Regions from separate parts of the Homo sapiens genome. Here regions 1, 2, 4, 5, 6 and 7 are each linked to region 3. The links are contacts of gene promoters, found by promoter capture Hi-C in blood cells and fetal thymus (Javierre and others, 2016). All regions are on one chromosome and are shown on one strand. Each heading gives the region's core, a stretch centred on a gene start or on the middle of the fragment in contact. The rest is flanking DNA. Distances are from core to core; before and after follow the strand shown.

Region 1 (3,943 bases), core at 280-2,779, 1.5 Mb after region 3:
GTCACCTGCATTTCCATCATTGAGTCCTGAGGTGCATCAGCTTGCAATAGATTTTCCTTGTAATGGAGAAATATTTCTCCTTAGCAATGCTTCTAACAAATGTGGGAATATAGAACTTAGAACAAAAGGGCTTCAAGTTTCAAGAAAAGTGGGAAAAACATTTTCCTTTGTGGGAGTAAAGTACATTTGTAAGTGTTTCATGTATAAGCAAAATACATGAAGGAAGGCATCTTTCCTGCTTCACTTGCTAATGATACCTGTCTGTCCTGAAGGCATCTCAATTAGCATCTCATCTTAGACCTTTTCAGAACAGCAGAAGCACAGAAAGTTGAACACGCAGAAACCAAGGGTTTTATAATATAGCTGATCCTTCCCTTTATAGTGTTTTCATTCTTTTTAGATTTAAATGTTACACTATAAACCCTGTTTGCCTATATATGTCTGTGTGCATGTGTGGGTATGATACCACTTTGTTCATAAGCCAAGGGCTGAGTTTACTTCCAAAAACACTTCTGTCAGGGTGGCCCAGCAGGGCCAAGCCAGGGCAGGTGTGTCTCTTCACCTTTTTCATCCCATGTGGAATATTCTCTTTCCACTCAATTGATAATCATAATGATTTTTAAGAAGATCTAGAATAATCCTGATGTGAGACTCCATGTCTTCCATTAATCTCTCCATCATTTTTCAAGCCTACACTAATTAATTGTTCTCTGAATGATTTTAAACGTATAGTAAGCAGTAGATAATAATGAAAATAATACATTTAATTATAACCTAATTAATTTGTGTTCAATAGTTCTGTGTCATAAAGAAACATAGTAAAATTTTTGAGGGTCACAGATTGTATTTTACAGTCTGTGGGGGGTAGGTGTGTGTGTCCCCAGAAACCATAACAGAGTTGGATACAAGCTGTGTGGAAACTATTTGTTAATGGGTTCAGTGGTTGAAATCTGAGTTTTTGTCAATACCATATTTACTTGTATAATCTCCTCACGCTTTCCTATTATGTTCATGAGCATTTGGGTCCCAGTTCTCCACTGCCTTCAAGAATCACCCTGTGGGGAATCTGTGATTTACTAAACAACAGTGACTTTAACGAAGTACCCCAGCAACCAGTGTTAATGTTAATTAGAATTGAGATCTCCTGACACATTTGCTTTACTTCAGCAATTCCTTCATTCCTCAAAAGAGCTGTTAAGAACAACCATTTCAAGTGGCTAAACTACTTTTGGTAAAGCAATAGCCTGTGACTGGTAGAAGTTTGTATGTATATCAGTGTGGAGGGGGGACAGAGAGAAATAGACGCAGAAGCAGAAAGTTGACAGAGGAAGGAGGGGTTTATAAGTAGAATCTTCTTTCCTCTCTAGTGTGAGGTAGGAAGTTGAGTACCCAGGGGCAAGGAGGCAACAATGATGAGGAAGTATAAAGAGAAGGAGGAGAAACAGTTAATACTGACTCATTGTCTTCTGTTCCAAAACAGAAAGTCTAAAACTCCCTCTTGATGTACCTACTTGCTTATTTTGGACAGAGACCATCTCATTGATGAATATTCAAGTAGTGCATGGTTTGCTTAAAACACCAAAGGTGGCCGGGCAATCCCAGCACTTCAGGAGGCCGCTTAGGCAGGTGGATCACCTGAGGTCAGGAGTTTGAGACTAGCCTGATCAATGCGATGAAACCCCGTCTCTACTAAAAATGCCAAAATTAGCCAGGCATGGTGGTGGGCACCTGTAATCCTAGCTACTCGGGAGGCTGAGGGAGGAGAATCTCTTGAACCCAGGAGGCGGAGGTTTCAGTGAGCTGAGATCATGCCATTGTACTCCAGCCTGGGTGACAGGGTGAGACTCCATCTCAAAAACAGAACAAAACAAAACAAAACAAAGCAAAACACTACCAAAGGTGAGTGTGAACTTCAGATACTCTATACATTTTTGCCATTTTTGGCATTTTCTAGTTCAGAACTGGCACCATTTAGGTTCTTTCTCTTCAGAAAAATAAAAGCTAACAACACAACATTTTTCCCTTTCTCCTTTTCTTTCCTGAAAAGTAGTAGAAGGGTAGACTAGAGGTTCAAGTAATGGTAACATTAATTTGAGTTTCGCTTTCACATAAGCAACTGGCTTGCACTGACATTATATATGTAACTCTACACTTGCCCCTCTGTTTTGCATTTCTTCTAATATGAATACAACCATCTCATTATTTAAAACTTAACAGAATTTATGTCTTCTTCCATCTTTGCCTACCTCCTTCATAATCTAAGATAAAGAATACATACTAAAAATATGTATGTCATTTCTTCTGGTCAGTAGACAATTTCCTGCTCTACAAACAACACTAAAAACCTCAGGAGGGCAGATTTTACATGCTGTAAACCAAAAGAGATGCTTTGGGGTTTTGATATGGAAGAAAGTGAAAGTATGGTATAAATTCTGTTTACACTCTGAATTTATTAGAATATTCATATCAAAGTGTAAAGACACTGTACGGTACATGTTTATCAAACTATATGTAACTTACTAAGTGTTCAAAAAAGTTTAATTATGGACTATCTAACTGTTTCATTTCTATGTATTTACCCACACTTTGAAATGTGTGGATTTCCCCAGGGTGTCATCTGAATTTCCTGCTCTCCTAGTTTAGACTCATCCAGTCTTACTGTTCTAACCACGCCAAAGGAGTCTAGTCTCAGTTTTGAATCCACTAAATCTCTTTAGCTACAGATCTATAATCTGAACAATCTACTGGTTTCTCAATTTGATGTCCCAGAGCATTTCTAACTTAACATAAGCAAACTGTAAGTCCTGACTTTCCCTCGTAAATCTTGCTCCGCATCTCACATTGACAGTCTCTATCTCAGTAAATGACTTCCCAGTCACCCAAGTTTAAAGCCACAGAGTCATCATTGGGTGTTCCATGATGTAAACTGAATTACATTATCCCTATCCTTAAAAAATAGTAAATAACTACAAAAATATCCAAATATCCACCACATAAACTTAAAAACCTAATTACATGGCAGACACCATCTACTGCTTATGCAACATCATTCCCCTTTTATCCCTGCTAATAGGCTTTTGATTTCATTTCCAGATGGAAGGCAAAGGACCCTTGCTTTAGGGGAAAAAGGGTTCTCTACAAGCCCATGGAAATCCCATTTTCCTTCACTCAGAGATTGGACCAGACAAGATGTTTGCCAGTTCTGACCAATTAGATGAAATGGAGAATCTTTGAGGTATGATGCCCAGAACTGTGTAGTCCATCAGCTTTGTCATCATGAAAACAATCATCAAGGGTAGCAGAACAGAAGAACTGAAGGATACAAAGTTCCTGGGTCCTTGACGTCCCTGAACAGCTGCAAAACACCTGGAACTGCCTACCTCGGAGCTTGATGCTAAGGGTGCAAACAAGGGCTATTATTTGCTAAGCCTCTGGTAATTTATACTTCATAGCTAAAAGGCTTTCTAATTAATAACAAGGCCCTTCAGGACTTTTGCTATCTTGTCACCACCTACCTTTGCAGTTTCTTCAATCTTCCCTCATCCTTTATACCAAACACTTTGTTCCATCCCATAGACTTTTAGGATTTTATCCAGAAGGCTGACTTTTTTCTTCATCTTCCTGGTGAGAAACTCATTGTTTCAAGTTCTAGCTCACATATTCTTCAAGCAAATATTATTTATCTACCAAAAGTTCCCGATTATTACTGTTAAAATCACTCTGCCCCAGGAAGAACTAACTGATTTCTCTTCAGCTGTGATTTGGATATGGCTTGTTCTCACGAAAACTCATGTTGAAATCTCATCCCCAATGCAGCAGTGTTGGGAGGTGGGGCCTAGTGGGAGGGGTCTGGGTCATGTGGGTGAGTCTTCATGAATGGCTTGCTGCTGTTCTTGAGGTAGTAAGTGCTCACTTTGGTGAGACTAGACTGGTTCTTGAGAGA
Region 2 (3,940 bases), core at 305-2,804, 1.5 Mb after region 3:
CTCTGACAGCCCATGTATGATTTGACTGTGTGTCAGAATCTCTATCAGCAGGTAAGGAAACTAACAGCATATAAAGGCGTCCTGGGCTTTCTCCCTTGCTACATTTTGAAAAACGAAGAACTTCCCATCAGGTGAACAAAGAGTTGATAATGCAAAGGCACAAAGGGTATACCTTGTCTCTATTCTGGAAGTTTATCCCAAGAACCTGCTTTCATTGAGAGTTTGAAGGGGCTTAGGGTGAAACAGCTATAAAGACAACTAGGAAAAAAGCAAAACAAAACAAATAATACAAAACATCTCTGAGATATTGAAGGTAATATACTAGCAAGGGTCATAAACTTGAAAACTTGATTGTATTAGTGCAATCCTCTGCCAATTAGCTAAACTTCTCTTCTTTCAGTACCCAATGTTTTTAAGCTTTAAATGTTGGTAAGTACAATATTTTTGGAATAGCTTTAATTAGCTAAGTTGGCAGTTTATCTTATTTATTTTATTCAGTGTCTTACTGTTTCTACTTCTTTTATATCCAAAAAGTGTTTGAGTTGGTACATTTAGTTATAAAGGCATTTAACATTTATATAAAGGCATTTAAATTTTAAATTAAGACACAAGAAATTCTAAATGGTACTTGAGATACCCTTGAGAGAAGCCTCTCATTTCTTGTATTTGCAGATACCTCATATATTTATAAATCAACTATTTTGCATATTTAAGTCAGACAAAAACACTAAGAGGCACAATGTCTCTCATTAGAAGAAAACGCAATTATTCTACTTAGTTATGTTTTTAAAATAGCCTGACATTTAAAATAATAGATGAATATGTAATTTTCTCATCAGTAATGGGCAGTTCCCTTGGAGGTATCATCAGTGTTTTATAAGTTGCTATTTCAGAAGAGTTTCATGAATGCAAAGATTGAAGCTAGGAAGCAGAGAGAAAACATTCCAGAATGACACCACCCTACTTAACACCTATAATACTTAACAGTAACGACAATTAAGCCTCACAAATTAAGTCAATGTATTGAATTCCTATTGGGTGAGCTAAAGATAGGACATTTATGTGTAGTGATTTTTCCCCATACTAATTCCCCATCCACAACCACGTACCCAAACGAACATCAGAGCAACATATTATGCTGTAAAGGATTAAATGATATTTCAGTTTATGCCTTTATTTCTTGTCTCTTTTCTCCAAGTGATAATTGAGATCTCATTTACCATGCATGAACACTTACATTCCCTTTCTGAGAACATTTCTGATATTGTTGGTATAAGAGAGAAAAGTCATTCATTTAAAGGTTGCCTTATTAATCTGCAGTTTTTGTTAAATATCTAGATTATCTGGCCAGTCAATTTGTCTGGCCAGTCAAATTGTCTTAGGCCAGTCAATAGCCTAAGAAAGAAGAAAGACTAGCTGCCATACTCAATCCAAATGAATCGGGATATGAATATTTATAAGGACATCAATATTCAACAGTGTCTTACAGTCATGCTCCAAGCTAAATAAAAATAAAACCACCAGAAATATTACAGTATAATAGGATAAGAGCTAAGAAATATGTACAAATTCATTGACAACATCTGTGCGAGTGTTCTGGACAAAACATTTAAAAAGAAATCTACATAAAACAAAGTAGATAAATTTATCAAATATTGATAAATTTTCAGAGACAGTATAAAAGTACACAAAACATGAAAGAGAGAAAGAATTTAAAAAAGAACCACTAAGCCAATACATATAGTACAAGTTTACTACATTTATATTACAGAATGATGGAAACCAGAGACAAAAACGATTTGGTAACAAACAGCAAAGAAAGTTTCACCACCAATCACAAGGAAGAAAGATATTCTTTTTCAAATGAAAACACAGACTGCCAGAACTCATCCCCCGCATCCCCTAACCCATACACACATAGAAAAATAAAAGCAAATGCGAAAGTTGTCTACAGCAACAGGACAGACAGAGGTGGGAAGCATTTGGCAAGTTGTATCACAGGAAGTCAATCACGATTGGCTAACGATGATGGTACCTGGCTCTGTTGCAGGTCACTGCTTTGCCTGAGGGGAGTGACTGATGGAGGAGGCACACCTGACGTCGACGCAGACCGGCCTAATTTGCAGCTTACTTTAGGCTCTGGAAACAAGCGGAAAAAGACACAATATTAGCTGACTGACATCTGGAATAATGAAGTGGCTTTTCAGTCTTTCTGTTTGTTTCGCTACTTATTCTTGGAATATACAAAATGCTCCTGATGTTTGCTAATAAGTAGCAGGTGATAAAACACTTTCATGGCAGTTGACTCTAAAAGGAGCTTTATACCCAGATTGGCTTCTGGGGAACAACTCTCAGAAGCACAGGCCTTGTGCCTTTGCACATTTTACCTCACTTAGGGTTGGTTTCTATGGAGTCATCCCTGGAGCAACAACAACCCATTAGGAGAACAAGCAAGTACCATGACTATTTTGAATGTTTCACTTTTAGCTTTGATCCGTAGGATTTCTGTGTCCTAAAATGTCTTCTATCCCTTCTCCAAATGTTCTGTTTTCCTTCCTTCCATGAATACTATCATCATGTTTTCAATGTAACATTTCTTCAACTCATCTTGATTTTCATTAAATTTTATAACTGTCTTCCAAGACTTTTACTATCTTTCATAATATTATTTTTCCAACTTAAAAAGCTTTCTCCTACCTCTTCTCTAATTTGAGGAGCCCAAATTAGCTGCCTAGGCCACTGACAGGATGCTTTAGAGATTACAGTTTGAGGACTGAAAGAGTTCCCTTCATCCAGAAAGTACAGGATATTTGGGAGGTAGAGATGATTAATTTAAAGACATATTTGAAGATATTTGACAAAGGAAAAACAAGTCATAGAAAGAAAAATGGACATTTATACTTTATCACAAACTTCAGTGTAAGCTGTTGGTTTTTGAGTGCCTAGTACATTCCAGCTTCTGTGAGGAGTTACACCTAAATTATCTCTAATCCTAAGAACTCTCTTTGGAGCTACGGAGTTAGCTATCAATATCCTCAACTTACAAATTAGAAACCTAAGGTTCTCCACATCCAGTCTTTGCCTAATAAATAAACAAGTGCTTTTCAAAAAGCCTTTCTTTATAAACTTGACCTAAAAATTAAACTCATCGAACAACTGGCTTTAAATAATATGACATAACTACGGTACTGAGAACTGACACGCGTGCCAGAGAGCCAGAATGTGCCCAATTCCGTTGGAAGAAAAGAAAATGTGTTGCTCACGCTGGGGAGGTGCACTATCCTCATGCCATTTCTATATGAATCGCACTTCAGAGAAAAGCATTGACTATATCTGCATTGCATGAATGGTTCACTGCCAACTTCAGTTTCCATCAATTGCCTTCCACTCCTCCACTCCCAACCCCTCTCAGACACAACATGCAGACACACAGAATGAGTAAGCTTACGCCTACTTACACACAGACTCATACACTCTCACCCATATGCACCTTTCCTCTCTCAGTCCTGTTTCCACCTATTCAACAATGCTTCACCTCTCTATTAATATTATTCTCCTAAGGGAACTAATAGTTTTCTTTCTTGGCAAATAAAATAGTGTTTTCTCTGTACTTCTGATTTAGAGGAAAACAATAAAAGACAATAAACAAGGTTTGGACTTAGAGCTAATTTTGAATCTGACTCTGCTAGGTGTATGATCTTAAACAATTGTTTTCATTATTCAAGTTTTAGTTCTTCTCAAATAAAATGAATTTAGTCACTTATTCAACATTCGGCATCTATGTATTTTATGCCTACTATGTGCCAGGAACTTGCCAGAGAGTTGTGACCAAAATCCCAATATTGCCCTAAGGGACTGCACAGTCTATGCACTAAACATAGACATTAAACAACAAATGATGGGCCAGGCACAATGGCTTATGTCTATAATCTCAGCACTT
Region 3 (4,061 bases), core at 693-3,192:
ATGGTTCAATTAACTTTGGCATATTGTGAAATACTGTGCAACAAAGCAAAAAGAAAAACAGGAGGATCTTAAATACTGACATGGACTGGTCTACAGGTTGCAAAGGAATACAGCACAGTATCATTTATGTTAAAAGGCCAACAAAAACATACATATATGTTTGTGGGTTCATATGTGTGTGTGTAAATTCATGGACAATGTTTGGAAAACTACATGAAATATGAAAGTGGTGAAAGTGGACACCTCTTGGAAGACAAGGAAATGGGGAGAGGTATGGGGGGTGTCAGAGAGGGCTTTAGTTTCACCTATAATGTCTGCAATGTCTTCATTTAATTTAAATAGGAAAAACATATAGAACCTATATGTGACCATAGGTTCTAAAATTCTTTTCATGTAACATATATAAATATTTATGTGACCGTTAATTTCCAATCATAATCTCAATGATAACATTTGTAAAAACATCTGCTCATCCTTGGAAATGAAATTTCCTATGCCACGTTATCACCCAAATCAACTTTTTAAAGTGTAAAAATAACAAGTATCTGAAAAGTTAAAGTTTACTTTCACAAGGTAAAATCAAGTGAGTCAACTCTAGGAGGCACAATCGTTTTGAGGACAATCAATTTCTATTTAATGGCAAAGAATAAGAAATATGGGATGGATTTAAATAAATCCAGTTTCACTCAAATTCCAAGTCAAAAATCAAATCAAAGTGTCAGATTGCTTAAATGATTCTAACCTGAGTTCGATTTCTAAGGTGCTCTTAATTTTTCAGTGATAGCATTTGCTTTTCCCAACAATAGCAAAGGAAAACTGGAGGGCAAGTTTTGCAAGGAAGAAACTGAGCCCCAGAGAGGTCAGGGTTTAGTGTGACGTCCCAGCTAGGAAGTGGCGGCTGGGACTCCCTGCAGGTGTCTCCTGCCAGCCCTCTGTGCGCTGGGCCAAGCTGCTTGATTTGATTCACCAGCGTGACACCGTGCATCTCCACATCCGGTGTTCTCACGTATCATCCCTGGCGATTATCTATGTGTCTATTTTTTAATTTACTGACCTCTGGAGGCCTGTCCCCGCCATCCCTGACTCCTAGGCACTGGACAAGCCCCCTCCTCGCCTCTTCCCCCAGCCCCGCGCATTCCACCTGTTCCGGGGCATCCCCGCTTGCTCCCTTCCGCTCGCTGCCTGTCCCGGGACCTGCGTGAAGCCCTCAGCCTCGCCACTAGCCCGGCAGCCGCTCCACTACCGCGCCGCTGCGGGTGGGGCCAGCGCGTCCCCCGGACGCGTGGAGGAGGGATGGAAGTGCGGGGGTGGGGGTCGCGCAGCCCCCACTCACCTTGCTGGCTGCGGGCGCCGCCGCCAGGAGCACCAGCAGGAGCGGCAGCAGGAGCACCTGCGGCCTGGGGGCGGTCCGGGCGCTCATGGTGGGCGCGCGCTCAGAGCCTGGGCGAGTCCGGGGACCCTCAGGCTCTCAGGCCACCGCGTCTCCTGCGCAGCGCGGCTCTGGGAGCCCGGCTGGAAAGCTCGCCTCGCCACTCGGCCGGGGCGGGTTTTGTAGGGCTCGGTCGCGCGGTTCGTCCCTCCCCACCCAGGCTTTTTGGTTGTGGCTTCAAGGGAGGGAAGACGTGGCTCAGGTCCCGCCCTCATACCCCCTCCCTCCCAACTTACCAGGCAGTGTCCCTTCTACCCGGGCATCGTGCCCAGGAGGCGAGAAAGGGCTGGGCGCCTGAGGGGCAGGTGGGCGCGGATCCAGGGTAAGGGGTTAAGGAGGTGATGCTCCCAAGGTCCGGGGGCCCAGGCGGGGAAGTGGGGTGCGGTCGGAGGTGGGGCGTTTGGGGGTGTGCGGTGGGGAGGTGGCTGCGCGGTGGGGAGGTGGCTGCGCAGGGTGGAGGGAGTGGCCAGCGGCCCTGCCCAGATTAAGCGGGAGGCGCGCCGGGCGTCTGCACTCGGGAGGCCCCGCTTGTTCCCCGCGCCCGCGGCGGTCCGCGTTCCCCGCCTCCAGCCCGCCTCCAACTTGCGGCCGCCGGGCTTGGCTGCGAGAGCGCCGCGAAGAGGCAGCGGGGCGCGGGTGGATTGGGGCTGGAGGTGCGCGTCCCGTGGGGTGGCAAGGCGGCAGCTCCTGGCGCTGCGGGCGTCCCCACAGGTAAGGCGCCCATAGGTGGGGCAACCGCTGTCCCGGGGCCCCGGCACCTGCCTGGGAGGGGCAGTGGAGGGAGCGTGGCATTCAAGGGGTGGTGGCGGGCCCAGCTGGGGAGTTGTGGCCCGGGGGTCACCAGAGGAGAGCGCGTCTGGCTCCTGGGCTTGTCTGCCTGGGCTTTAACTGGGTGCTGTGTGTTTTGATTAATTTGGAGGCTCGAGTTACCGGCCTGGCAGTCGGGGCACTCCAAAATGCCAAGAGAAAGAGGCAGCTGAGGAGAAAGAGAAAGCCCATCTTATTCTCCGCTGAGTTGAACTGCTTTTCAGGCCAAATCTTATCTGCGGAAATGCAGGGCAAAACAAGACTCAGCTCTGGTCAGGGTGCGCTCTTCCTGGGGGTGGCCTGCGATGCAAATGTGCCAGGGCACGGTCCTCCAGCCGGCTCTCGCCGTTTCCTGTGCTACGGACCACACTGGCTCTGGTAAAGCAATTAGACTGTTTCTCAGAAGAATGTTGTGAAATGCATAAAATACAATTAAATCAGAATCAGTTTTATTGGAATGCAATTATGGAAGTCCTCAAGTCGTGATATAGTAACTAACACAGGTGCATCATCATTATTGCATTAAATAGCTTGATTTAACAGCAGGCCGATTAAGCAACAGTAATGTCAAAGTAGTGATGTCTGCAAATGGTATTTTGAGATAATAGCCCAAACTGAAATGTGACATGAAAATACCGGTGGGTGCAAATTATCAAGAACTGCCAATACTACTGTGCTCTGTTGCCTGTGCTCATAAGGGAAGGACATGTTGAACTTCTGTGACATGTTACTAAAAGTAAAGATGCAACTTATTTTCCTATGTGAGTTTCCTATACAGATCACCTGAATTCCATCCTCAGGTTAAGAATCTTTGCTTTGGAACAGTGTTGCTGATATTTGCTGCAATTGGCTTCAGACACCAAGTATGATCATGCAGTTGGTCACTGATTTTAGGGAACCACTTGCTTGCAGTTAAATTTGGGATCTATTGGTATCTTAGAACTTTGTAGCCATGCAGGTAGGCAAAACCCTAACAGTGAATGAAGACACTCCTCCCATTCTTTTTATTTTGACTATAGCATGAATCTTACAGTCTTCTTTCTGTCTTTTATGCCAGTGATTCTCAACTATCGTTGTGCATTAGAATCTTTGGGAGGATAAAACAATGTTGCTACCCAGACCATTCCAAGCCAATTTTATCAGACTCTCTAGCTGTTTTAAAATTTCCTGTACATTCCCATGCACAATCAAGTATGAGAGCTCCTGTTTTCACGAACATGTGAAAATTTCACGCACATGTTGAATTAGGATATATTCTTAGTAGAATAATAAAAAGCACATATATTAAACTCTTCATTACAACTTGGGAACACTGCGGAATTTATGACCATATCGCAGATGTTGCTGTGTGGTATGCAGTAGCTTCTTTCCATTGGTAGGGAAGGTTCTTCTGGAAACTTCTGCCACTCTTGTGGAATGAAACGGTAGGTGTTCTGTTGATGAGGTGACAGTGTCCAAGAGTTCTGAGAGTCACATGATTATGTTTCACAAACTGACAGTATTTAATTTTAAAAAGTACAAACAAAAAAATCTCAATGCTAATGTTAAATGCTTCTCTTTGCCAAATTCCAGAAGATTCCTCAATTTGAATTTTAATTGCCTTTTCCTGAAACCAAGTCATTTTGTTGGAGGACTAGACTTGGTTTTATCAATTTTGGAACAGGAAGTAATAGTCAACTGCAAGTCATTTCTGTTGCAGATACAGAGCTGGAAAGAAACTTGTGATGTAAATACAGCAAGAAAGAGGCAATGCTGGAGAGCTTGACCTCTGGAGTAGACTCTGGAGTTTTGAATCCTTTCCATACTTACTAGTGTGACCTAACCT
Region 4 (3,853 bases), core at 994-3,493, 1.7 Mb after region 3:
AATCCCTGAAATAATGGATCCATGGGCTTTGTCTTCTCTCCGTATACCATTTTCTCCATTTCTCCCACTCTGTTGTTCTTTGCATTAGCAGTAAGATTGCACAGTTGTTTACCCAAGGAGTTTGTTTGGGGTAGGGCTGGCTGGGGAAAAGAGCTGCCTAGGGAATCCAGCTAAGAGACCTAGAAGAGGAAACTTAATGATCCTAGAAGGGAAAGAAGGAGGTGACAGTGAGGAAAATAGGCTCTGTGGTGGTGGAGCAGCAAGAACATCAAGTAACATTTTGGAAGGTTTGATTTTTCTGCTGCATTTGAGTAAGGAGAGAATGAGAAAGGGGTAAACAGATGCATTTCAGAAGCCTTCGGGAAACCCCACACTCTCTTTCTATTGAAGTGACCCATCATTAGTAGCAGTACTTTCCTTTTAGTATTCCTTTAAACATTGCTGGCATAGTGAAGCAGAAAAGAAATATTGAATATATTATTTTTGATGAAACAGTGGCAACAAAGGCTAAGACTAAGGGAAACACTGCAGAGGAACCTGCAAGCAGCCACACTGTACACTACTCTAACAGGCACCATTCTATTACCAATCCTTTTTGTTCTCAGACCACTCATCTCACACACATGAATAAAGGAGGTGAGGGCAGCCCAACAAAATGGCCCCACATTTTTATGTGCAAAATCAGATAGGAAGATGTTTTTATAATGAAAAAACTTTAATGGAGCTTTCTGTAAAATCGCAGGTAGTGAAGCTTAAAGGGTTTTAAATCAAGTCACTGTAGAATTTTATGTTAAAGGAATAGAATATAATGGAATAGGAATTATTACTATGCATTATATGTAAAAATAAGATATTTTTGTATACTGTGGCTTCATTTAATTCTACTCTCATTACAGTATGCTATAAGTGTATGTCACATTGCTTTTTGTTAATCATCACAGTTGCCATTGCATGTTTATTTGTGTATGTGTGTGTGTGTTTGTTGTTGAAATTGTTGTTGTTATTGATGTCTCTCTCTCAACTAAATCACAAACTGCAGGGGCCTTGGGTTTGCCTCCTCATTCTTATTTCCAGCACTTAGCACAATGTTGGACCAAACTAGGAATCAAAAATATTTATTGAATAAATGATAAATGGATGCCTAAGGGGGTGGAACCTTGCCTCCCAAAGGCCCACCCTGACCCAGAATGTCACAAACTTCATCTATTTTGCATTTGTGGCTTTCAATATATAAAATATTCAGTGATTTTTCAAACTTCAAGAAATACTACTTCATATTATTGTTTGCAAGAGAGAAGTAGCTCACAGGTAAACATTATTAATTTAAATAAAAAACCTGAGTTTGAAAAATTAATAAATTAGTAACCGGTCCCATAAGTTTGTTCTCCATGTGGTTGTTCATGATCAATTAAATTCTTTATTAGCAGGTCAAAAAGTGAATAAGTAAATATGTTTTATGTTCAAACTTAATGTTGAAGTTGAGAACAAAAATGTAAAGGTAACAAAATGTGTTGATTCACTGGACTTTAGAGAGTATTATTATCCTAGAGCATTTTCTAACAAATACAACAGTCATTAGATTTTGACAATAACTAATAGAGAAAATAAATAATTATTATTATAATTTGACCATTTAGTGAAGAGAATTTGACCATGGATGTAAACACTGATAAAAGTAGAGTTATAAAAAGTACATGGATAACCTGACTGCTTCTTGAGAGATGATGAATTATATACAGGATGACACTTTTAATTGACAAATATTTCTGAGGAAAAGGTTTTTTAAAGAAAGAAACAGTAGAGATCAATAGTCATCATCCTACATTTCTCTGAGTTTTCCCTTTGATTTCATGGAACACATTAAGAATGATTCTGAAATTTCAAAGAGATGTCAACTTAAGGCAGAAACGGGAAGGAAAATATAAAGTTATGTTCTTGAGACTCTTGTTGAATTGTTAGGGAGTCATTACATCAAAGACATTGTAAATTAGCAGAAGGGGTGTTTACTCTCAATTTAAGATAGTTAATTCTGAAAATATCTGGATACATGGATCATGTTGTTGGACTAAAGTATAGCAACTATTTTTTAAAACAACTAGTTTTAATGTAAAAACCATTTATATAAGAAAGAAAACCAAATTGTCTCCTCATTGTTCAGATCATAGTATACAAGTTTTAAGTCATCTTCTCAAACACAGCTCCTATATGTAATTCTCCTGCTTAAATATCTTCAATGGAATCTATTTGACCATTTATTTTATTTTTCCCTTTAAGATCCTTCTTGCTATACCCTCAACCACTTTTGCACAGCTTCACAATATATCCTATGTCCCAATCACGCAAATACTCGCCTTTCTATGAAGCCTGCATTTTTGTGCCTCAATATTCCTTTATGCTATTTTCCTTCCTCGGCATGTCCATTTTGAATGAAGTTCACTTATCTACATTCCTTCAAGTGCTAGCTCAAATGCCCTTTTAGTTAAGAAATATAGCTTAAACTCACCCACTTGGTTTTCATCTTTCTCTCCTTCATATCTCCATTATGCTTCCAATTTTTAACAGTACATTTTGGTTTGTATCAGACTTTCATTTACATATCTATCTTCCCCTAGTATACATATATAAATCTTAGATGGAGGAGATCATTTTTTTCTTTCTAGAATTTTACCACACCCACTCTTCCCAATAACACCTGTCATGATACCCACATGTAGTAGACATTCAATAATATCTATTGAATTTTTAGTCTTAACATGAAATACCTTCTAAAAATTATTTTCTAAAAATTAAAAATGTCTCAGGCTGCCAGAAACAATTGTCTACATTAGGAATTCACAGATTTACAGAAGTTTGGATTTCCTTAGAAAGTAATACATACTTTGATTGACTTAACTTTTACCAAAGTTACTTGGCTGGTAAAGTCCAGTGACGTCAGTAGACAAGTAAAAGAAGTAGAAGAATTTCTTAATATATATTCACCTTTGGGATTGTTTGAAAATTGAAGAGAGGAATATGGAGGTGCAATACTATTTTGCATTAAGAAAGATGCTTTGAAGAAAATAGGACTGGGGAAAGGGAATCACATTGGTACAAATTTGATGAAATTACATGTAGAAAAAAATTTAGATGTTTTTCCTATCCTAACAATTTAGCTAAATTTAACCTCTGAATCGTCTGAAGTTTGTCCTTAAGAAAAAGCTAATCATAGCACAAAATATACAAGGTGACTGCAAATGCAAATATCTTTGGTAATTACTGGTGGATTTAAAAAAAAAAACTATGGTACTTTGGAATTCTAAGCATTTTCACAATGCATTGGAACCGATTCAAAAATGCTATTAGAAGTTATTATTTTGGCTGGACCACAGGTACCATGCAATGCTGAACTTTTGGCATGTCATACTCTTTTATTAAAGGACTTTTGGTCTGCATATAGAAACAGTGCCTTTTAACTATTTCAATGGATCACTTAGGATGGTTCAAATCATCTAGACCTTTTTCATTAAATATTCTTGCTGAGATTCACTTAATAAGTAGATCGTGTTGGCATAATCTAATTCACTGAGGTACAGTGTTAATTTAGGACAACTTATATTTTAAATTAAGAGTCACTAACCTGATTTTATAAGAATAAGAATTTCTCATGCAAATTATACCAAATTCAAAGGGATGGATTTGGTGGCAGTGGATTTATAACCAGATTTTTCTTCTGGCTGAAGAGTAGAGAGAAGCTTATGTTGCTGTAATTCTTACTCTTTCTTCAAATATCTCCTGTTCCTTTTTCAATCTTTTCCTATTGTTTTTTCCATTGGCTCCCACTCGTTGACTGTTCCCAAGTCACATATGAACATAT
Region 5 (3,746 bases), core at 558-3,057, 1.6 Mb after region 3:
CTGAAAATTAACCTGCAAATGGACTGTATTCAATACCATGCAATCTAGCTAATAATTTTGCTGTCGACAACATGATATTCATTTATCTTGCTGCTTGTTACTTGCTTTCCCCAATCAGTAATGGGACTGACTTCTCTTTTCAGTATTATGTATAAGAATAATCTAAACCTGGATTCTCCATTGATATTCCTTGAAACATTTGGTTCCTAAATATCTTAACTACTGTTGATCTTGGCATTCTCTACAAAGCTCAGATTAAAATCAATATTGGTTAATCATGGCAATTCTATTGGATGGTGCTATTTTTTAAAAAAAATTAGCTTTAGAAAAATCAATAAATCTACAAATATAAACTGATTATGCAAAATTCAGTCACAGGGACCATGGAAATTTACAAAAAATATAAACTGTCCCTGCCCTCAAAAACTTACCATTTAATTGGGGAGGTCGGATGCATATTTGTTCACTCAAATAGTTGAACACATGCTGAGCATACACTTTATGCCAGAAAATGTGCTATTTGCTGCAATAAAAAAGACTCAGTATGTGTCCTAATAATTTAGTGGGGGAGGCAAATATTTAAACACACATTTACAACACTGTCAGTCATATGTCAGAAGAACTTTTTCATAAAAATGAAGGAGCAGAGTTCCCTTAAAAAGGAAGCAGAAGGGACACAGTTTTAAAATGATTACTAATGAGGATATCCTATTGCATGGAAATAAACAGAAAAATCTTAACATGTTAGGCAAGAGTGTGGCCCCAGCTACTTGGGAGGCTGATGCAGGAGGATTGCTTGAGGCCAGAAGTTGGAGGCTGTAGTGCACTATGAACATGCCTGTGAATCACCACTGCACTCTAGCCTGGGCAACATAGCCAGAGCCCATCTCTCAAAAAAATATATGGAATTATTTACATAGAATAATCAACAATATCAGATGTTTCATGAAGGTTTAAAAGAATCAGGAGAGGAAAAATGCTAGAACCAGAGCCCAATTAGGAAGCCTCATGTAACTCTGGGGTGAGTAGAAGAGGAAGCCAGTTTGTGGGAAATTAAGGCTGGAATGAGGGAGAAGAAATGGAGGCAGCAAGTACAGCACATTCACTTAAGTGGATTGGCCATGGAAGCTAAATGGAGAACTATGGCTGGACATAGAATCAAGCTTCTGTTTTATGAAACATCAGTGGGCAATTTGATTATGGTTTATATTAAAGAGCCATACACACAGCTTGGTTCAGATGCCAAAATGAATTCTGCAGGCTACAAGTGAGATTATCAATTAGCCAAAGAAAAACAACTGTGAGGTAATCTGCTTTAATTTCTTAGGTTTAAAACTTCTCTTTGACCATTTCAACATTGACAAAAAGCTTTCATTTGTTTGACACATATCTCTTGTCATTAATTATTGGTAAGTGGTTAATAACTAATGGTCAAAAGAATGAAAGTTGTTTGTAGATATAGACACAATTTGGATGTCCAGAATGTGTAACTTAAATAGAGCAGTACTTTATTTCAGCTCTGATCATTCTGTTGCAGGCTACTAACAACTAAATCCTTTTTCATCCTTCTAGTTTTTGGGGATCTAGATTTCTTAGTTGTGACATGGGAACAAAAAGATGCATTAGAATTATCCACCCATAGCACTATGGTTGGATCTAACGTTGGACAACACATGAATACCCCAATCTCTATTTTATGACTGCTTCTAGCTATTGTTTTTTCATCCTTATTCTTTCTTATCTTTATTATATCAGTTCCATCTACGAAAAGAAAAGCAAAACATAGGAAAATTCTATTTTATTGAATATAACTGAAAGTTGAGTAGTAGAATATGTATAGAAAAGTTTTTCCTCCATTATCAATTATCAGAAGAATATTACGGACTTCTGCATTGGAATTTTTTCCTTTCAGTTCAGCTGTTCTGGGTTCTTTTCTAGCCAGCTACAGCTTTACACGCTGCTTTACAATCCATGTAACTAATACTCCTTACTTCCCTCTTAGATTCCTTAATATTTTTACTTCTTCCATTTGGAAATAGCAATAGCCCAGATTTTTCAGTTGATTGGTTATTCTGCTAGGAGTGGAACTTTTAATTAACCTAGCTCCCACCAGCAACAACAATAATGAGTTTGCTTCTACCAAGAAATACCATGCACCACTACAGACATTTAATTAAATTTGGGATTGTCATCCATTTACTGAATTCCAAAAAAAATTATTTTATCAAAAACTGAGAAAAGCTTTTCAAATATTTTATAACTAAAATCCATTTTTTCACCAGGGAACACACATATTCAAGACCGCGAGTCACATAATGATAGCTTTGTGGATTTATGCAATGTCTTTCCAACAAAGATGTTAAATGACCTATTTGAATGTTTTTATTTTATTTTATTATTTTTTTTTAGACAGAGTCTCACTGTGTCACCCAGGCTGGAGTGCAGTGGCACGATCTCGGCTCACTGTGACCTCTGCCCCCGGGTTTAAGTGATTCTCCTGCCTCAGCCTCCTGAGTACCTAGGATTGCAGGCACCCACCACCACACCCAACTAATTTTTGTATTTTTAGTAGAGACAGGGTTTCACCACGTTGGCCAGGCTGGTCTCAAACTCCTGACCTCAAGTGATATGCCCTCCTCAGCCTTCCAAAGTGCTGGGATTACAGGCATCAGCCACCGCACCCGGCCATTGAATGTGTTTTTATTGTCTTTACAATTTTTGATCAATAATGCATAAGTTAAGCAGATTGAAATTGCTTCTTTAAAATGTTATTTTCTTTTTTTGAAAAAGGTATCTTTCTTTCTACAAACATAGAAAAGAGATCAATTTTCACAGCTCATTCATTTGTACCGAAACCGATGATGATTTGACCTTACAAAATGGTCCAAATTTAAATGCTTGATGGGCATATTCTTTATATCTTTCCCTCCAATAAATCTGCCTGGAATGGAATGGCCATTCTTTCAAACATGCCACTTAAGAGTAGAAGCAATGATTCAGCATTCAGCATAGCTGCTTTTTTGCTGAATGACTATATTGATTTTAATGTGGAATATTCTAAGTCAAACATAGAAGCTGATTTTTGTTTTTTCACTTAATGGTCAAACATTTCTTATATGGCTTTTTTCCCTAAAGTTCAATAGCCTTCTTAAGTGTGCCTATTAATTCAACAAGTTCAATAAATACTTATCATGTACCAACTTGGGGAAAGATTGTATTGGATCAAGTATTACAAAAAGTAAAATGATGAAAAGGTTTGTAGCTTGTTTTCCCTGGTCCTTTGTTTCAATAGAGAGAATCAGATAGAAATAATCTTCACAATGCATTGGAATAAGTCTTACATCATTCAAAAATTTGAAAAAAAGTAGTCAAAGACAATAGCATAAGAAAAACACCATGGAGAAATTGGTAGACTGAGTTGGGAGTCAAGGATTAGGCTGACATTTTTTTCATTAAGTTTCTGGCGAAGTCCTTTCAGCAAGGGAGAACAACATCAGAAGGAAAGTCTCAGAAGGAGGAAGGGGGTCCTCCCTTTGGAGATTTACAGATCAGCCAGTAATCTGCAGAAGCCCCACACAAGAAGCCAAGCCAGAAGGGACTCAGTTTTAGCATCTAATATTTTCATTTGAAAAGTGAGAAAACTAAGACACTAAGAGGCAAACTGACTTATCTAAGGTCTCAAAGCTTGTTAATGGAAACCACCTCTTGTGACATCCAGCCTTGTGCTAGACTTCAAGATCATATTT
Region 6 (3,842 bases), core at 1,287-3,786, 1.9 Mb after region 3:
GAAAGATGTGACAATAGCAAAAGAAGACGTCACCTTAAAAGAGGTCGCAATTTTTTGGAGCCGAAGTGGCCAGAGAACGTTTAATGACTGAAGGAAGAGATTTAATCTGGAGGGAGCAGTTATGGCTATGGAGAGGAGTCCACTGGTGAAGGAGGTTCCCGAGAGATGCGAGTGCCAGGGAAATGAGCAGAGGTGAAGGAATTGGCTTCATTCAGGATGAAAAATACCTTCTGCAGTTGGAGATTACAAAGTAGACAAAGGTGTGTGAGGAAGAAATTTGAGGGAGGTCAGGTTACGAGATTGGTTGATTTACTTCCCAAAGATCTCCATTTTCTTGCCTATACTAATGCCAAGGTTTTCAGCATTCATGGTGGTAGAGGGACAGGATAGTGGTCTGAGGAGAGAAATTGAGGTTTTCAGTGCTCAGTAAATGAAGAATCAATAGAGTAAACCCTGCCTGGATCAGTAGTGTTGAGGGCCCAATGGCAAGTAGAATCTATCAATTTCCAATCCACCCAGCTGAGTCCTGGTTCACAGTCCTCCCAGAAATCCAATTTGAGTCAAATGGTAGATTGTTGTATTGATACCAGAAAGAGGTATTATTAGATGGAAAGGATCGAAGGTTGGTGATAGAGATTCTAAGGGAGTAAACTCATGTCCTCACACCAGAGTTCCAGACTGGAAGACAGAAGAGGAAAGCCATATACAGGCACTTTCAGACAGAGAAAATGGAGAGAGGAGTAGAGAGGCAGGCCATAGCCTAGGAAACTAGCAAGAGTTGATTGTGCACTTCTCTTTTCAACTGTTTAAATGACCTCATGTGGGTAGCTTGAAAAAAGCATTGTTGGGAATATCTGTGCCTTGGAAATCAGCAAGCACCACAAACTGGGGCCTTATTTTTTTCAGAGAGCCAGTCTACTGCCACACCACTGGATTAAAAGATAGAATATGAGCTGTCTTGGTCAGTGCAGGGTGCAAGACTGGAGGCCTTATAAACAACAGAAATATATTTCTCATGGCTCTGCCACCTAGAAAGTCCAAGATCAGGGTGCCAGTATGGTCAGGTTCTGGTGTGGGCCCTCTTCTGCGTTGCCACCTTCTCTTTGTATCTTTGCATGGCGGAAAGAGAACGAAAGAGCTCTCTGGGGTCTCTTTTATATAAGGGCACAAATCTCATCTATGAGGGCTCCACCTTAGTTAGGAAGCCTCATCTCTTAATATCGTCACATTGAGGGTTAGGATTTTAACATGAATTTGTGGAGGGATATAGACATGCAATCCATAGCATGAGCATTAGTAATTTTAGAAGAAGAGGAGGCCATCGTCAGAGTCTAAAATGTGGACATTTAATATTAGTGACATAGAAAATGAGGAAAAGTTTCAGGATGTTTTTGTTTCATTAGATTAGTTAATTAATTAGTTATTTCATTAGTTTTTAAAGCCTGAAGCTGAAGCACAGAGAGAAAACCATGTAAATGGAGTTCCAAGCTATTGTAGTAGATGATTTATAAACAAGAACATTAAATTTTCCTAGGTAGAGGGCAAGAATCTATTCAGGCAGTCAAATCTCCAATTAATTAGATGGAACAATTAGAAATTAGATAAGTGTCATCTATGAGGAAAAGGAGAGAAAATGACATCATGAACCTCAAGAGAAGAAGAGTAATGTTTCTTCCAGATTTTCCCAGACTTACTATATTTAATAAGATTCTATTCAACAGACTTTTATTGTTCACAATATTATGCTAGATGTTAATATGGAAAGGAGCACTTGATAATTAATAATTTAAACCTTCATATGAAACATTATTTCTCTTGTAAAACATTTAAAATTAAAGATTTAGTGGCAAAAAAAGGCTACTTTTTCTTAAAATTTTGTCCTGTGAACCCCGTTGGTAAAAGCTTGCTCATTTGAATGTTGCTAGGGAGTTGCTAAGGGATATTGTACAGAGAAATTTATTTTGCATTACCTGTGATGACCCATGATGAAAGGAAAAATGCTTATTTCTTTTTTGAAAGAGAGTTAAAAAAAATCAGACCATTCCTAGACGAATGCTTAATACCCAACAGGCATGCAAGAAATATTTGCTGCATTGTACAGCATCTCACTGAATGTCCTTCTCTTTGGAAGATATTCATTCATTAGCTTATATTAATTTTTATTAACTGGCTTTAATTTTTATTTGATTGTGATGCTACTAACTTGATTGTGATTATTCTTCTCCTGTTTCTTTTCTATAAGTAGAATGACAGGAAATTCCTGAGTAGGGAAGGGGAAAGTAGACAACTTCTATTGGCACTGGCAGAAAATTTTAAAATACCCCTCGAGCCAGGTGCATGACACATGCCTGTAATCTCAGCCACTTGGGAGGCTCAGGAGGGAGGATTGTTTGAACCCAGGAGTTGGAGGCCAGCCTGGGCAGCACAGTGAGACTCCAATCTCTAAAAAATAAAAAATTAAAAAATTAAAATACCCCTCAAATGTCAGCATGAAGGCCATTATCTTATTATGTCTACCCAGAGAGCTGCCCTTAGATTAAAAGTTCCTAAGCTGTTTTGGAATAAGCACCCTTTCAGGACATGATAAATACTGTTCGTCCAAAACCCAGTAAAAAATAATTGTTCATGTTATAGTACAGAACCTCCCCAGCTAATAATAACTGCTCTTAACCTTCCAACCTTGTTGCTTTAGTACTTTCTCTTAACTTCTGCATCCAATACTACTGCCACCCCTCTTGTAGCCCCTTGAAGGCACCACTCCACATCATGACTTATTTCCTGGCCACAGACTCTGTCCCTCAGGGCAACAGATCTTCTAGATGTTAACTCCCAGGAGCCCGCGTTGCAGAGAGGTCAGCCAGGATTGGGGATGCACAGACCCTCCCCACTCTCTCTCAGTTGCATGCTGTCACTAGAACAAAAACATACCTGGCTGTGGGTCTTTGTCTCAGAATTACCCAAGGCAACAGCTCCTTCCATTTCTGTTTTCACCACTCCTGTTCACAACACCATGGACCATTATCCAAGAGAAACACCAGGCTCTCCTTCACCCTATCTTTTTCCACGGCATCTCACAAAATATTTTACCTCTCGCCTTAAGCCCCAAAAGATTCTATTTACGAAAATATGATATGAAAAAGCCTAGAAAGACACTACAGAAGAAAAGCTTTACTGATGTCATAAAGAAAGATATGATTCTATGGAGATGAAAAGAAGAAATAAAAAGATGGGAGTTCTCGCTAAATTATTGTGTGAGTCTAATATTGGGGTGAGCAATGTCTAGCAAAATCTCAATGATACTTTATATTAACAAAATCATTCTAAATTTTACCTAGAACTTGAGGCATGAAGAAAAATGTAGGCAATGATAGAAAACAATTGGAAAAAAAGTTATTATGGAAGAAGGCATTCTATCATTTATATAAACATTTAAAAAATATATAGGTTAAAAATTATCTCAAAACAATATAGAAGAAATATATTATTATAAAATGTTTTGTCTTAGTTGTCTGAGTATTTTGAAAATAAAAGGTAACCATACCTCTACCATATCAATTATAGGTAAATTATAAAACTGAATATTAAAAAAACTAACTTAAAACATAAATATTCAACAGGTCTTTTCAAGAAGGAAGTTGTTAAATGTAATGAACAAAATATGAGAGAAAAAGAATGCATTATTTCAAAATGTTCCATTAAAATTCATAAAGAAATTAACAGGCCAGGCCTGATGGCTCATACCTGTAATCCTAGCATTTTGGGAGGCCGAGGCAGGAGGATCACTTGAGCTCAGGAGTTCAAAACCAGCCTAGGCAACATAGTGAGAACTCATCTATATATAT
Region 7 (3,894 bases), core at 942-3,441, 1.5 Mb after region 3:
CCTATTTTAAGAAATTGCCACAGCCACCCCAACCTTCAGCAACCACTACCCTGATCAGTCAGCAGCCATCAACACTGAGGAAAGACCTTCTACTGGCAAAAACATAGGACTTGATGCAGGCTCAGATGATCGTTAGCATTTTTAGCAATGAAGTATTTTTTTAATTAAGGTATGTACATTGTTTAGACACAATGTTTACACTTAATAGACTGGATTATAATGTAAAAATAATTTTTCTATGTACTGGAAAACCAAAAAATTATTGAGACTTGCTTTATTGCAATATTCACTATATTGCCATGGTCTGGAATTGAACCCATGATACCTCCAAGGTATGCCTGTAAACAATCCAAAGAAATCTTAGCAATATTGATTTTAATACAGATCCCTGTCATTCCAAAACACATGATAAACAATGAATTACTGCTTGATGCTGCCAAAATGATTGCTGAAAGCCTATGTAGGAATTTTTTTTTTTTTTTTTTTTTTTTTTGGAAAATACTGAAGACGTTTTCCCAGGAAGGACATAAACTAATGCAATAGCACCCCTTTGTGGTGACATAAGGCTATAAAAATCATAACCAAGACCATTAATTTGTAAGGGTCTTTTTTAGAATTTCCTGCAGAATTACATTGAAATGGCCTAAAGACTCATTTAGTAATCCTTTCCTTTCTCTTAGGCAGAACCACACTACTATCATCTCACCAATATGGAAATTTACTGTGGTTTTAAAGGTCTCCAAAGGAAAGATTGCATGACCTCTCCCCGTACAACATTCCAGGGTTCTGCTTTCAGGTCTAATAAAAATAACTTGACACACGAGCATGCACCCATTTCCTCTAGTTAAACCTGCCTCTTTGGTTGAGATGAGAACCAGATGGCTGTTATCCTTTTTATTCCTTGGCATCTATGTACACCAACTGTGAAGGCCAAGGATACAGAACCATAGCAAGATTGTACAAAATGGATTTGGTCAGAGGAAGTAATCATGACCTATCTATAAAACCTTCCAAAGTAGGGCCTGCAAATACCACTTCTGTTTGGAGCAGAAAGTGTTTTAGTGGGCCAGAATGTGCAAAGCACATTTCTTCATTTGAAGAGCTCTTCATCTTCCCCTCATGTAAGGTGAATCGCTGCAACCTGGGTGTACTTCATAACAACCCGACTCTCCTTGGAGGAGGTGTGCTCACACTGCTTTCAAACAACTTGAGTCTTTGGAATGATCGTATCTATTTATTTAACCTTCTTGCCCTTTGCACATCATCTGACTGCTGGACAGAACGGAAATAAAAATTGTTATTTTTCTCTTTTTAAAGTCTAACACAATTACACATTTTCTACTACTGAACTGAATGCTACTTTGAATTTTCTCCATTTCAGCATTTTAAATATTAATAAAATTTTGATTTTTTTGTTATTCACTTTAGCAGTTCCCAGTGGTTTTCAAATTATAGAACAAACTGAGCTCTTCCCAGAACATTCTGGATATTTGTTTTCATAGGGTTGACATTACAATACTGTGTTTCTTTCTTCCTTTTTTTTCTCACTAAATGATTTTTTAAATTGTAATCAAGAAAAATAAGTTGTTGAAAATGTAAGCTGCCAGTTTTATCTCTAGTTAGGGTTTATTTTTGTAACACATAATCAGTTGAAATATATAGAGATTAGCTTTGCCCATTTTTGTCCATACGAATGAGCTTTTAAGGGATGAATTAAACAATGGTGTCTTATTTGTAGTAGGTAGAGACGTGATGTGCAGAAACCTACGTTAAGGCCTTTCATTTTAAAACAATACAGGGTAATAAAAGCCAAATTCACGTGCCATAATGACTTTTGATCTCTTTTGTAAAAAGAAAGAGATAGAGTCATGAAAAATAGTAATAATTAACATCTGCTCTGTATGTTCATGTACCACATGCTTTATGCCTCAGGTAGATAACATACATTGTAAAAGAACAGCCAACTTCATGTTCCTGCCTGAAACCTCACTGTAAATAAAATATGAGTCAGACATTCATTATGTAGTTTTTGGTATTCATACTTGTCCTTAATCATCCTCTATTACGTCTGTAGTTAATGCATATGCAATCAATTTTAAGCCATTAGCAGCAAAAAAAAAAAAAAAAAAAAAAAAAAAAAAAGCAGGGGACACCAATTAGGACACAATTTTTTTCTTTATTTATTCCTGTGTATGTAATTACCTTACATTAATAGTTTGACTTGTCAAGTAATTTCTAGCCCAAATGAATGGAGACATGTTAACTTTGGAGATCCTCTCCCTCCCTCTAGTGGTGATGAACTGCACAGGAAATCTTCAGTATGTGTTTGCTCTATAATACCCAGGAGAGTGCAGCTGACACACACACAGGAAAGGACAGTGCATTGAGAGTAAGAAGAGAGGGGTTCAAGGCCGAGATCTGCCATTACTCTGTGAACTTGAGATTTCACTTGGCCTTTTGTTTCTCAGTTTTCTCATCAGAGATGGGATAATGATTATGATTTGCAGGACTGTTGTGATGGTCACATGAGAAAACATTAGGTCAAATATATTTAGACATCGATAAAACATAATTAGATTTCTTCTTTTTCTAAGAGAAAATACAAGAAACATAATATACTCAATCCACTGATCTGATCCTCTAATGGAAAATCTGAGGCAGCCCCCATGGCCTCAGTCTCCTGGTACGCAGAGTATATAGAGTAGACAAATCTAGAGAGAGTCTTATTGATGTTGTGTTCAAACATCAGTCCCAGTGATGAAACCAACTGATGTCATCTGCTGTGTGACTCTTGGAGAAGGTCATCACATGTAGTTTTCTTGCTAAGCATGGTGAACTCAAATCTAATCACAAGAGAACAATCAGACAAAGGGACATTCTGGAAAAAAAGCAAAATCGTTCTGGACTCTGAAAATGTCACTTATCTTGAAAGACTAATGAGGTTGGGAAGTATTTGTGATTCAGGAGATTTGGAGAAACAAAGAAAGAAACTGAAAACTATATGTAATGTCGTATCCTTGATTGGATCCCAGACTGGGGAGGGGTATAATATTGGGGCCCTTGTAGAGATTTGAGGATTCCCTTTATATTAGATGATAGTAGGTAGTAGTGAATTATTATAAATTACCTGACTGCTTTTTTGAGTTTGATTGTTTAGAAGAATACACTCGGTCTTAGGATAGTCATGTTCAAATATTCAGAAATGAAGTGACATTATTTTAAAAAACTGTATGTGTTTAAAAGCACACACATTATACTAGTCTTCCAACCGTGCATCTGTAAAGCATCTCTATTAAGGTATCTCTATTAAGTAGTTTCAAAAGGAAAATATGAAACAAATGATTGCTCTTAGGTATTCTATCCATTGAAGATTCATTTGGGTTAAGAATGCCCTCTTTTGTAATGCTAATTGTTCAGGGAAGGGCTCTCTTCTACAATCCCCCTGTCATCTGAGGCTTAAGTGAGATGATCTCAGGGAATCAGAATTTAAATTAAAAGGAGACAGCTCCTTAGCAAATTTCTGTTGACTTGACTTTCTACGTGAATCAGCTTCCTCAAAATGGGAGTAATAATGATCATGCTTATGGTTCCTAATTCTCCCAGAGCATTACCACATGCTCTTCATCCCCTAATCATTTTTCTACAATTTTTCCCACCTCAACATTTGTTAATCCTATAATGCTAAACTGCTTGCATTTCTCTGACAAATTGTATGACTTCAGACTTCTCACTCCTTTGTAAACTGTCTTATGTCTGACTGTAAAGGCCTCCCACCCACTCTTATTAAATATATATGATATTTATATTTATATATTCACACACACGTATTTGGCTTCTTTATCAGGCTGAAATTTCTTTGAACACAGGAGTTTGTCATATCAACCATCTTCAAAC

The links. Contacts are between HindIII fragments. The CHiCAGO score rates a contact against its expected background, and 5 or more counts as called.
Region 1: a fragment that was not itself captured here is called in contact with the fragment with the promoter of COL4A4 in region 3 in 4 of 17 cell types (M2 macrophages, M0 macrophages, M1 macrophages and 1 more); the score reaches 9.5 in M2 macrophages.
Region 2: a fragment that was not itself captured here is called in contact with the fragment with the promoter of COL4A4 in region 3 in 3 of 17 cell types (M0 macrophages, M2 macrophages and M1 macrophages); the score reaches 11.3 in M0 macrophages.
Region 4: a contact is called between a fragment that was not itself captured here and the fragment with the promoter of COL4A4 in region 3, in 1 of 17 cell types (M0 macrophages). The highest score is 6.2, in M0 macrophages.
Region 5: a fragment that was not itself captured here is called in contact with the fragment with the promoter of COL4A4 in region 3 in 4 of 17 cell types (M0 macrophages, monocytes, M2 macrophages and 1 more); the score reaches 7.5 in M0 macrophages.
Region 6: a fragment that was not itself captured here is called in contact with the fragment with the promoter of COL4A4 in region 3 in 2 of 17 cell types (M2 macrophages and M0 macrophages); the score reaches 6.8 in M2 macrophages.
Region 7: a fragment that was not itself captured here is called in contact with the fragment with the promoter of COL4A4 in region 3 in 3 of 17 cell types (M2 macrophages, M1 macrophages and M0 macrophages); the score reaches 11.2 in M2 macrophages.

What each region holds. Positions count from the first base shown.
Region 1 is chr2:225,629,746-225,633,688 of GRCh38, reverse strand. All of the region lies in intron 6 of NYAP2 (neuronal tyrosine-phosphorylated phosphoinositide-3-kinase adaptor 2), which reads right to left. Among named protein-coding and RNA genes, the nearest start is that of NYAP2, 230 kb to the right of the region's middle. The HindIII fragment of the contact is 8,057 bases long and covers 1-3,943 here.
Region 2 is chr2:225,649,631-225,653,570 of GRCh38, reverse strand. It overlaps NYAP2 (neuronal tyrosine-phosphorylated phosphoinositide-3-kinase adaptor 2), which reads right to left. Exons shown (of 8, transcript NM_001371273.1): 7 at 2,036-2,139. Among named protein-coding and RNA genes, the nearest start is that of NYAP2, 250 kb to the right of the region's middle. The HindIII fragment of the contact is 2,269 bases long and covers 420-2,688 here.
Region 3 is chr2:227,162,086-227,166,146 of GRCh38, reverse strand. COL4A4 (collagen type IV alpha 4 chain) reads left to right here and starts at 1,942. Exons shown (of 48, transcript NM_000092.5): 1 at 1,942-2,140. COL4A3 (collagen type IV alpha 3 chain) reads right to left here and starts at 1,523. Exons shown (of 52, transcript NM_000091.5): 1 at 1,334-1,523. The coding sequence starts at 1,420. RefSeq lists silencers at 1,290-1,469, 1,690-2,069 and enhancers at 2,340-2,439, 1,714-2,615. The HindIII fragment of the contact is 7,891 bases long and covers 1-4,061 here.
Region 4 is chr2:225,479,073-225,482,925 of GRCh38, reverse strand. The region is part of intron 3 of NYAP2 (neuronal tyrosine-phosphorylated phosphoinositide-3-kinase adaptor 2); the gene reads right to left. Among named protein-coding and RNA genes, the nearest start is that of NYAP2, 81 kb to the right of the region's middle. The HindIII fragment of the contact is 2,980 bases long and covers 754-3,733 here.
Region 5 is chr2:225,593,183-225,596,928 of GRCh38, reverse strand. The region is part of intron 5 of NYAP2 (neuronal tyrosine-phosphorylated phosphoinositide-3-kinase adaptor 2); the gene reads right to left. Among named protein-coding and RNA genes, the nearest start is that of NYAP2, 200 kb to the right of the region's middle. The HindIII fragment of the contact is 873 bases long and covers 1,371-2,243 here.
Region 6 is chr2:225,276,791-225,280,632 of GRCh38, reverse strand. No RefSeq gene overlaps it. Among named protein-coding and RNA genes, the nearest start is that of NYAP2, 120 kb to the left of the region's middle. The HindIII fragment of the contact is 1,264 bases long and covers 1,905-3,168 here.
Region 7 is chr2:225,667,205-225,671,098 of GRCh38, reverse strand. All of the region lies in intron 7 of NYAP2 (neuronal tyrosine-phosphorylated phosphoinositide-3-kinase adaptor 2), which reads right to left. Among named protein-coding and RNA genes, the nearest start is that of NYAP2, 270 kb to the right of the region's middle. RefSeq lists a silencer at 2,347-2,396. The HindIII fragment of the contact is 4,763 bases long and covers 1-3,894 here.